2 separate regions of the Homo sapiens genome follow, and region 2 is linked to region 1. Evidence: promoter capture Hi-C in 16 types of primary human blood cells and fetal thymus (Javierre and others, 2016). All regions are on one chromosome and are shown on one strand. The core of a region is centred on a gene start or on the middle of the fragment in contact, and the rest is flanking DNA. Distances in the headings are between cores, read along the strand shown.

What was found. The method cuts DNA at HindIII sites, captures the fragments that hold promoters and counts their contacts. A CHiCAGO score of 5 or more calls a contact.
Region 2: a fragment that was not itself captured here is called in contact with the fragment with the promoter of BIRC6 in region 1 in 1 of 17 cell types (total B cells); the score reaches 5.1 in total B cells.

The regions. Positions count from the first base shown.
Region 1 is chr2:32,355,328-32,359,799 of GRCh38, forward strand. BIRC6 (baculoviral IAP repeat containing 6) reads left to right here and starts at 1,696. Exons shown (of 74, transcript NM_016252.4): 1 at 1,696-2,159. The coding sequence starts at 1,835. RefSeq lists enhancers at 1,367-1,879, 2,394-2,906 and silencers at 1,383-1,752, 1,913-2,142. The HindIII fragment of the contact is 6,861 bases long and covers 1,187-4,472 here.
Region 2 is chr2:33,576,124-33,581,312 of GRCh38, forward strand. No RefSeq gene overlaps it. Among named protein-coding and RNA genes, the nearest start is that of RASGRP3-AS1, 9.3 kb to the left of the region's middle. The HindIII fragment of the contact is 627 bases long and covers 2,867-3,493 here.

The DNA.
Region 1 (4,472 bases), core at 446-2,945:
AGTGGCCGGGCGCGGGGGCTCACACCTGTAATCCCAGCACTTTGGGAGGCCGAGGCAGGTGGATCACGAGATCAGGAGTTCAATACCAACCTGGCCAAGATGGTGAAACCCCATCTCTACTAAAAATACAAAAAAAAAAAAAAAAAAAAATTAGCCAGGCGTGGTGGCAGGTGCCTGTAATCCCAGCTATTCAGGAGGCTGAGGCCGAGAATTGCTTGAATCCAAGAGGCAGAAGTTGTAGTGAGCTGAGATCACGCCACTGCACTCCAGCCTGGGCGACGGAGTGAGACTCCGTCTCAATAAACAAACAAAAACAAACAAAAAAGCCAAAAAAAAAAAAAAAAAAGAACCACAGATGAGTAAGGAATGTCACTCTCTGGCAGGCCCAGGAACTTCAGTGTATTTTAGGGACCCCCAAGAAGAGAGGAATACAGTCAAATCTCTAAGTGTTTCAGATGTAGCCTGATGGCTAATAGTTTAAGATGTAGTTCAGGTAATCCATGAAGATTTCCTGAAGGAAGTTCGCATGAATGTGAGAGGGCAATTAACTTTTATAATTTTTATTGAGCACGTAGTATATACTTGTCAGATGCTCTTCTACACATTTTACAAATGATTCTTAATCCTCACAACAGATCTTTGATTAGGTTTTTAAGGAAAACTAGTTCTTTCCAAAATAACCTAATGATCACAAAACATATAGAACATACAACTCTGCATCTTGACTATGGTGCGTAGGTCTACATGTGATAAAATGACATTGAACTATACACACATCATACAACTATCAAATCCCTCCTTTTGAGATTGTACTAGAATTATGTAATATGCAACCATTGGGGGAAACTGGGTAAAGAGTAAATTGGATCTCTCTGTACTATCTTTGAGTAGTGTTTAGGTATTTTATAAAAATAATGTCCTACAGTTTGGGTTTGTCAAATGGTTTTCTCATAGTTAGATAGGGGTTATGGCTTTTGGAGAGAAAGACCACAGAGGTCTGTAGTATATTTTCAACTGTAATCTATTTCAAAATAAAAAGTTTTAAAAAAATTCTCCAAGGGGGGATGATTAGTAAATTGATTAGTCCTTTCTAGACCTCCAACACACCCCACCACACACTCACACAGACCCACACTCCTATTAATTCCGGTAACTCGGGTTGTTTGGAATGTGGATAGAGAAACTAAGCTTAACTATGCGCTTCCAGCACCTCGTATCTGGTACTTCTGTTCAACAGAAAGCCTTGGGAATGGGGAGGGCAGGCGTGGTAAAAGGTACAGGTTTGGGAAGGTCGCTCGGTTCCTTCCAATCCAAACGAGAGGCTTCTGATTGTTTATTCTCACACCAGAGCCGTGACCGAGACCCAGAGGTCCGCTTCCGGCCACGGCCGAACAGCTGCACCGTGCGTACCGGGAACGGTCAAGGCGCAGCTGGAACCGCTGCAAAAGGCCTCCGGGCGTACCGGACAGGTCGCAAGGGCGGGGGTCCCCACCTAGCGGAAATGCACGGAGGCCAACCCCTCCCCCTGCCCCCGCGAGGAGCGGGGCGGACTCGGCAGCCGCCACTCCCCAGGCTCACAGGAAGAAACTGGGACGCTGCGGACGCGGAACTGGCCAGACCCGCGGCGCGTGGCACGCGCGAGCCCTCCCGCGCATGCTCCACCCGCCGGCCTCCAGCCCGCGCCCCGGGCCCCGCCTCCCTCCCTGCTTCTCCCCCTCTCCCGTCAGCCTCCCTCCGAGTTTGGCCCCTCCGGCCGGGCGATCGACGTTCCGCGTGCGTGCGGGCGCCTGACTTCACTTCCGGCTAACGCGCTCGGCTTGCCCCCTGGCCCCGGATGGTGACTGGTGGTGGTGCTGCACCTCCCGGGACTGTCACTGAGCCGCTTCCCAGTGTGATTGTGCTGAGCGCAGGCCGGAAGATGGCGGCTGCGGCTGCGGCGGCCTCGGGCCCCGGCTGCTCCTCGGCGGCGGGGGCGGGGGCGGCCGGGGTCTCAGAGTGGCTGGTGCTGCGGGACGGCTGCATGCACTGCGACGCCGACGGGCTGCACAGCCTGTCCTACCACCCTGCGCTCAACGCCATCCTGGCCGTCACTAGCCGCGGGACCATCAAAGTCATCGACGGCACCTCGGGGGCCACACTGCAGGCCTCCGCGCTCAGTGGTGAGTCTTCCGCACGCCGGGCGGGCGCGAAGCCGGGGAAAGAAGCCGTCCAGCCCCGGGGCTCGGCCTCGCGACTCGGGGAAGCGAGATGGCGAGAGGGCAGGGCTGGGGGTTCGGGCCCAGCCGTGAAGGGAGGCCCGGAAGCTGATGGAGGGGGACCTTAGGACTTGGCTTTTTCAGCGGCTGCAGTTGGGAGGAAAGACCGGCGAGTCAGGGAGTGGTGGGAGGGGAGTTGCCTTTCGGGCCTGGAGCGTCCGGTCTGGCTTGGTCCTCCGCGAGAGGTGAGGAGACCTTGGAGCTTGGCACCGGAGGAAGCGAGGCCCGGGTAGGCCCTGGAGAGGCTGTCGGTCCTGCGTCCGGTTAGATGAGAGCGAAAGGCTGGAAGGGTTGACCCCGGGCGGAGAGGCTGGTGGCCGGAGGCGAGGGGCGGGGAGCGTCTGAGCCGGCAACCAAGCCCTCCCTTGTGGGAGAGGAGCCGGCAGTCTGCTGTTCTCAGGTCCCGCAGTGCGGGGGACAGACCGCGGGCTGTGCGCCCAGCGTGGGGGTGGGGGTGGGGTGGGGGTGGGGTGGGTCGTGGTGGGGGTGGGGAGGGAAGTAGGCGGGCCAGCTGCCTGAACTGCTTGGTCGACGACTGTAGGACTCTGCGGACGCCGAAGACGACTAGACCTGGTCCCCTTGCTCGGGGCTTCCAACTTCTACGCCCCAGTGACGAGAAAGTCAGGACCTGTGGTGTATGAAATAGATTCCTTTGGGTTTGTAACTTCAGGCTGTCTCTACTTGTTTTCCCACAGCGAGCCGAAAATTAGGATTTGAAGGTGTGTCTGAGTCTCACCATTGGAGGAGAGCACTTCTGGGTGGCGTAAACCTTGGTCCAGGGACGGGACTTTCAGATGCGTGAGGTGTATGCTCAGTGGACGGACTGGAGTGGTTTTGGAATGGCCCTGGCTGAGTTAGATTTGGCGGAGATGACATTTCATTTGTGGTTAAATGATGGGTGGCTTAATTTGGATGTTGTAGGTTTAGATTGAAAAGTTAGTGTATGAGTGAATCGGACTCCTGCATAGAGATGTAATGTATACAACTGTCTGCGTTTAGCCAAGTGGAAGTAGTTATGTGGTCAACCAATTCACTTGTATTTTAACGTAGACGAACAAGGAAAAGTTTACTATGTGAGTAATAAGGCATTTGTAAGAGTAAATGGCAATTTAGGGATGCAAACGTGAAATTAGACATGTTAATTATTGTTGATGTGAGAGTTGTGAAAGAATTGGATTATGTATAGTTTCAGGATATAAACTTGGAACATATCTAAGAGAAAGTTTTGGGAGGTAGGTTTGTAATTTTTTCTTTTCTTGGCTTAGGTAAATGATGGGGTGGCCCAGATGTAGCAGTGAACAGTTACTGCAACTTGGACATAATGGCTTCTCACTGTGTGTAAGAGGGAGATGCTCATTGGTAATTGGATGTCTTTCTTTTTAAAAGTCATTTAAAAGTATTTCAAGTATGAAAAGGTATGAAGAGTAATTACAGTGAACACCATGCATCCCCAACTCAGGTTAAGAAATAAAACTTTACAAATAGGATTAAAATCTCAGCTGAATCTCTCCTGGACTGCATTTCTCCAATCCTCCCTCTTCATAAACGTTATCTTTAATTTGATTTTATCCTTTTCATATATGTCTACACTTTCTAGTATATGTTTCTATCTTGAGGATGTAGTATTTTTGTGATTTTTAACTTGGAATAAGTGGTATATGTACTAGGATTTCTAAAGAAAGTCATTAACAAAAGTATTCAAGTGTTTTGGATAGAAAGAGGAATTTTATGGTGTGCTTTTTATGTCTGGAGGCCATGTTTGAGAATAATAATGTGTGTCAGGATTTGTTGGTTGGGGAAATTGGACATATATTTATGTGCCTGTACATGGAAGGAAAGACAATATTCACTTTAGTGGTAGATTACTAAAGAGGAGGGTTTTAGATGTATAACATGAAGGTGTAGGTAGATAAGTAAAATGTAGCATTGATTTGGGATAACAGGTTTTGTTGGGGCATCTGTTGATTAGAAGAGTTCGGGATTGGATACAATTGCAGGTCCCCATGCATGAAGATTGAGTATGTGAATTAAAATATGTAGAAGGGTTTATAGTGAACGGAATGAAGGATTACAGAAAAAATTTGGAAGTTAACAATGGATGCATTCTGAAACATTTTCATATATGAGAAGTGAAATTTATTATTATTTGTAAAATTTATTCGTATTTGTAGAGATGGGGTTTTGCTGTGTTGCCCAGGCTGGTCTTGAACTTCCGGC
Region 2 (5,189 bases), core at 1,930-4,429, 1.2 Mb after region 1:
AGGATTTAAAGGGTTAGAATGCCTTCTTTATGTAAATTGGGAAAAGTTGTTTTCTCAGCTAGTTTTGGGAAAAAGTAACTGTGGAAGATGATCTAGAAACCGATTCCCTTGCTTAAATTTACTTGACTTAGCAGCATATCTCTTGCAGTGACTTCATGCACTATTCCTTATTCCATTTTGGAAAACACTATGCTAAATCATAGGCATCATTCTATCTTCTTATTGTGTTTTTATTTTTTATTTTTATTTTTCTGAGATGGAGTCTCGCTGTTAACCAGGCTGGAGTGCAGCGGCCTGATCTTGGCTCACTGAAACCTCCCCTTCCCAGGTTCAAGCGATTCTCCTGCCTCAGCCTCCCAAATAGCTGTGATTACAGGTGCACACCACCATGCCCGGCTAATTTTTGTATTTCTAGTGGAGATAGGGTTTCGCCATGTTGCCCAGGCTGGTCTCGAACTCCTACCTCAGGTGATCCGCCTGCCTCGGCCTCCCAAAGTGCTGGAATTACAGGTGAGCCACCGCTCCCGGCCGTGTTTTTATTTTTTAGAGACAAGTTCTCACTGTTGCCAAGGCTGGAGTGCAGTGGCACAATCATAGCTCACTGCAGCCTCAAACTCCTGGGCCTAAGCGATCCTCCTGCCTACAGGCATGTGCCACCATGCCTGGCTAATTAAAAAAAAAAAAATTTTTTTTTTTTTTTTAGAGATGGGGTCTTGCTATGTTGGCTGGGCTGGTCTTGAACTCCTGCCCTCAAGTGATCCTCCAACCTTGGCCTCTCAAAGTGCGGGGATTACAAGTATGACTCACTGCACCCAGCCTATTTTGTTTTTGATGGGAAAATAAAAGTGTGACCAATGAGAGGTAATGTTCTAAAGGGACATAAAAAGAATTGTGGCTGGGCATGGTGGCTCACACCTATAATCACAGCGCTTTGGGAGGCCGACACGGGTGGATCACGACACCAGGAGATCGAGATCATCCTAGCAATACAGTGAAAAACTGTCCCTACTAAAACACAAAAAGTTAGCCAGCGTGGTGGCACGTGCCTGTAGTGCCAGCTCCTCAGGAGGCTGAGGCAGGAGAATCTCTTGAACCCGGGAGGCAGAGGTTGCAGTGAGACAAGATAGCACCACTGCACTCCGGCCTGGGTGACAGAGCGAGACTCTGTCTCAAAAAAAGAAAGAAAAAATCTGTAACATGAGCCAATGAGCGAAGTCGCCCAATCTTCAGCTCACTCCCTTTGTTGTCCTTAACAATGCTCTTACAGAGCAGCTCTATTCTACACAGTCACACACTGAATACTATGGAAAACCATTTATTAGAAAAAAAGCTAGAATACAAAAGCAAATTTGAACATCATGTTGTACAGTTTAAAAAAAAAAAAAGCAAAAAGATGCATAGCCGATTGCCCATCATAGATTCTTTATGTCTGGGTACTCAGGATATCTTAGGCTGTTTTCAAGTTGTAGGAAGGGGAAATAATTGAGTGCTATGCCCTTCTCTGCAACATTTGTTCCAAATCTGAAACAGGAGGAGTAAAGAGATTTCTCCCTAAGATTGTGCTTAGGAAGTTCCTGAATATTAGTTACCTCTGTATTGATAGTAAACACTGAGTGTATATTATGTGCTATACATTGTGGTATTTTATACGGATCATCACATTTAATCCTCCCAGCTCTTCTAAGAAGGTGGGATACTTTCACTTTAGAGATTGGAATATCATGGGTTAAATAACTTGCTCAACATTACGTGGCTAGTGTACCAGGCTGCTTCCTGGTAATTTACATGAATTGTTAGTCAAGTATTTGTTGCATCCACCCATTGCTCTCAAATTTTAACATAGGTACAAATTTCATTGCCCTAGTTTGTTATACAGTAGGTATCTAGGGGAAAAATGCTTTCCATTACTTGTATTTTTTCCAGAGTAAGCACTTAAATAACTTGATAAGGTGTTAACCTTAAAAGAGTGGCACCACAAAATTTAAATTTATTACATTTCATTATCATTACAAATGAGATTTTTTAAAAAGCCCTGGCTCATCCTTTTAGGTTGTAATTTACTTTTTGTTTCATTACAAAATTTTTCACTAATTTCTACTATTTGAGGGTTAGAATGAAGCAAATTTCTCTGTAGTTAGACATTCGTGTAGTTAACTTGTGATTGATCATCTTCCACACCATATCACATAAATTGGTTTCTATTGGAAAAGAAACAATTCTGAAGCAGTTAAACCTTGAGAGATAATACAGCTGGTGTTGACTAAGGCCTTGATAAGTGCTGGAAATTTTGCATAACTCGGAATAAACTTACCTGTTCTGAGGACTTGATAGTACTTTTCATACATTTTGCAAAATAAGCCTGTTATCTCGACCATTTTGTAAATGCCTCATAAGAAGCCAGGCGCTGTGGCTCACACCTGTAATTCCAGCACTTCGGGAGGCCAAGGTGGGAGGATCGCAACAGCCCAGGAGTTTGAGACCAGCCTGGGCAACATGGCGAGGCCCTGGCTTTATGAAAAATGAAAAAACTTAGCTGGGTGTGGTGGTGCCCACCTGCAGACCCAGCTACTCGGAAGGCTGAGGTGGGAGGATCACTTGAGCTTGGGAGGTCGAGGCTGCAGTGAGCTATGATCACTCTAGTCTAGGCCTGTCGTTCATGCATTTATTCATTTATAAACCAATAAATAAAGAGAGAGTACTAGATATTTGAACCCCTAAATAATTCTATTATTGATACTTTTGGGTTCTTAAAGACTTTCAATTATATTTTCTTTAAGACTTCCCTGGCTTTTTGTAACCTTTCAGAGTACATCACTTCATTCCACTAAATGTTACACTGTTATTTTACTCAGTCCTTTCTCAGTGAAGCTTCTAGAACTACAGTGGTCCCTTGGTATACAGGAGATTAGTTCCAGGACCCCTGAACTAATGCACATACCAATATGCACACATAGTCAAGTCCACAGTCAGCCCTGTGGAACCCACATATATGAAAAATCAGCCCCTCCCTATACGGAGGTCTTTACATCCTGTGAATACTGTATTTTCCAGCGGCATTTGGTTGAAAAACTTTCTCATATAAATGGATCTGTTGTTCAGGGTCAACTATAATCTAAATTTATGGTTTATTTTCTCATTCTTTCCTTAAACTCCAGAAAACTGGTCTCATTTTTATTCTGAAACTGCTCTTGAAAATGCCACAAGAAAACAACACCAACACAAAAACGCCGCAAGACATACGGCTATTTTTCAACTCTAGTTCGTTGAATTTCTCTGTAGCATCTGGAATTGTGCATTACTGAGCTCTGGAGCCAGATGGCCCTAGGTTTATTCCAGCTCCCCCGCTTACTAACTATATGGATATGGGCAAGTCTTCTCAACTATCCTGGCTTCATACTCTTTACATGTGAAAAGAGGGTTAATAGTAGTACTCATGTTGCTCTCAATAAACAGTAATAACAGTAATAAATTACCATTCTTACTACCAACCCTAAGCTTCCACAACACTGTTCTCTAGGTGTCCCTCTTACTCTGTGACCCTGCTCCATCTATCCCTTAACTGATTAATCCTTAAGATTCCATCCTTGGTCCACTGCCCCTTTCCTCCCTTTTTGGATGGTTTAATTTGGAATCATTTTTCTGATGAAATGTTTCAATGCAAAAATCAGTGGATGTTGATCATTCCCAGACTTCTATCTCCAGGCATTTTCTGGAGTTTCAGACTGAAATCATTTCCCCCAGCCCACCTTTCCCCCTTCTTCTAATTTCGATTTCAATTGGTAGTTCATCATCTACTCAATCACAAACCAAAAAAACCAAAAACCAAGGTTCATACTACATTTCTTGTTCTAATATACTCCTATAATATTTGCCTCCGACATAATTCTCAAATCTGCCCCTTCTATACCCTTACTATGTCTACCACATTAATTTAAGCTCTACGCTTCTGATTCCAACCTTTGCCCTCCTCCTTGAGTCTATCCCCTACTCTTGAGCCAATAATTTACACAGAGCCAAACTTGAATATGCCGTGTTATTGGTATACTACCGTACACAAAGTAGCTCCAAGTTACTCAGGACGGCATGGAGAGCCCTCTATTACCTGACCCCTGCAATCTTTCCAATTTCTGCCAATTTCCACCCCATATAAGCAATACAGAAACACCATGCTCTCCTAGTACCCACACATAATTTTCATTATTATTTATGCTACAATTACCTATGTTTCTGGCTCTGTCACTCAGTCCATGCTGAGACATTTCTCAAGCCATGGACTTTCTACCTCAGCCCAGCACAGTGCTAGAATATAGCAGACACTCATTTTTACTGAACTGAACTACAGGCCTTTCTTCTTCTTTTTTTTTTTTTTTCCCTGAGATGGAGTTTCCCTCTGTTGCCCAGGCTGGAGAGCAGAGGTGCAATCTCGGCTCACTGCAACCTCTGCCTCCCGGGTTCAAGCCATTCTCCTGCCCCAGCCTCCCAAGTAGCTGGGATTACAGGCGTCCGCCACCAAACACAGCTAAGTTTTGCATTTTTAGTAGAGACGGGGTTTCACCATGTTGGCCAGGCTGGTCTTGAACTCCCGACCTCAGATGATCCGCCCACCTTGGCCTCCCAAAGTGCTGGGACTACAGGCTGAGTCACCGTGCCTGGCCAGGCCTTTTTTCTTCTTGAAAAAATTATAACTCAATTTAACAAATACCAATCATTTTAAGAGGTTTTTTTCTCCCCGACCCAAATTCCTAGGAAACATTTTTTTTTTCTTCCCTATCTATTTCTGCCCCCGGCCTCTTTATTACATTTAGTGGGCAGGGAATGATTTACTGTGGAAGTTCTCATACCAACAGTTATGTTTACTCCAACTTATAACCGCACATCTGCAGGTGACTAAAATTGTGCAAGCGGAAAGTGAGTTCAAACACTGACATGCATACCTGTTTGAATCAGTGATTTGAACCCTAGGAATACATTAGTGTATACAAATATGGAAACCACAGGGAAAAAAAAAGCATTTCTAGTTATTACTATGATAATGAAGAATGAGAAAAACAAGAAAAACAGGAAAATAAGAAGTCATAAAATGCTAAGTATTCTGTGATGAATGTACTTTTTCATTCAGGTAAACTCATTTTTTTATTTAGGTAAAATACAAATAAATACCTAAATTTTATTTAGGTAACCCTCTCTGT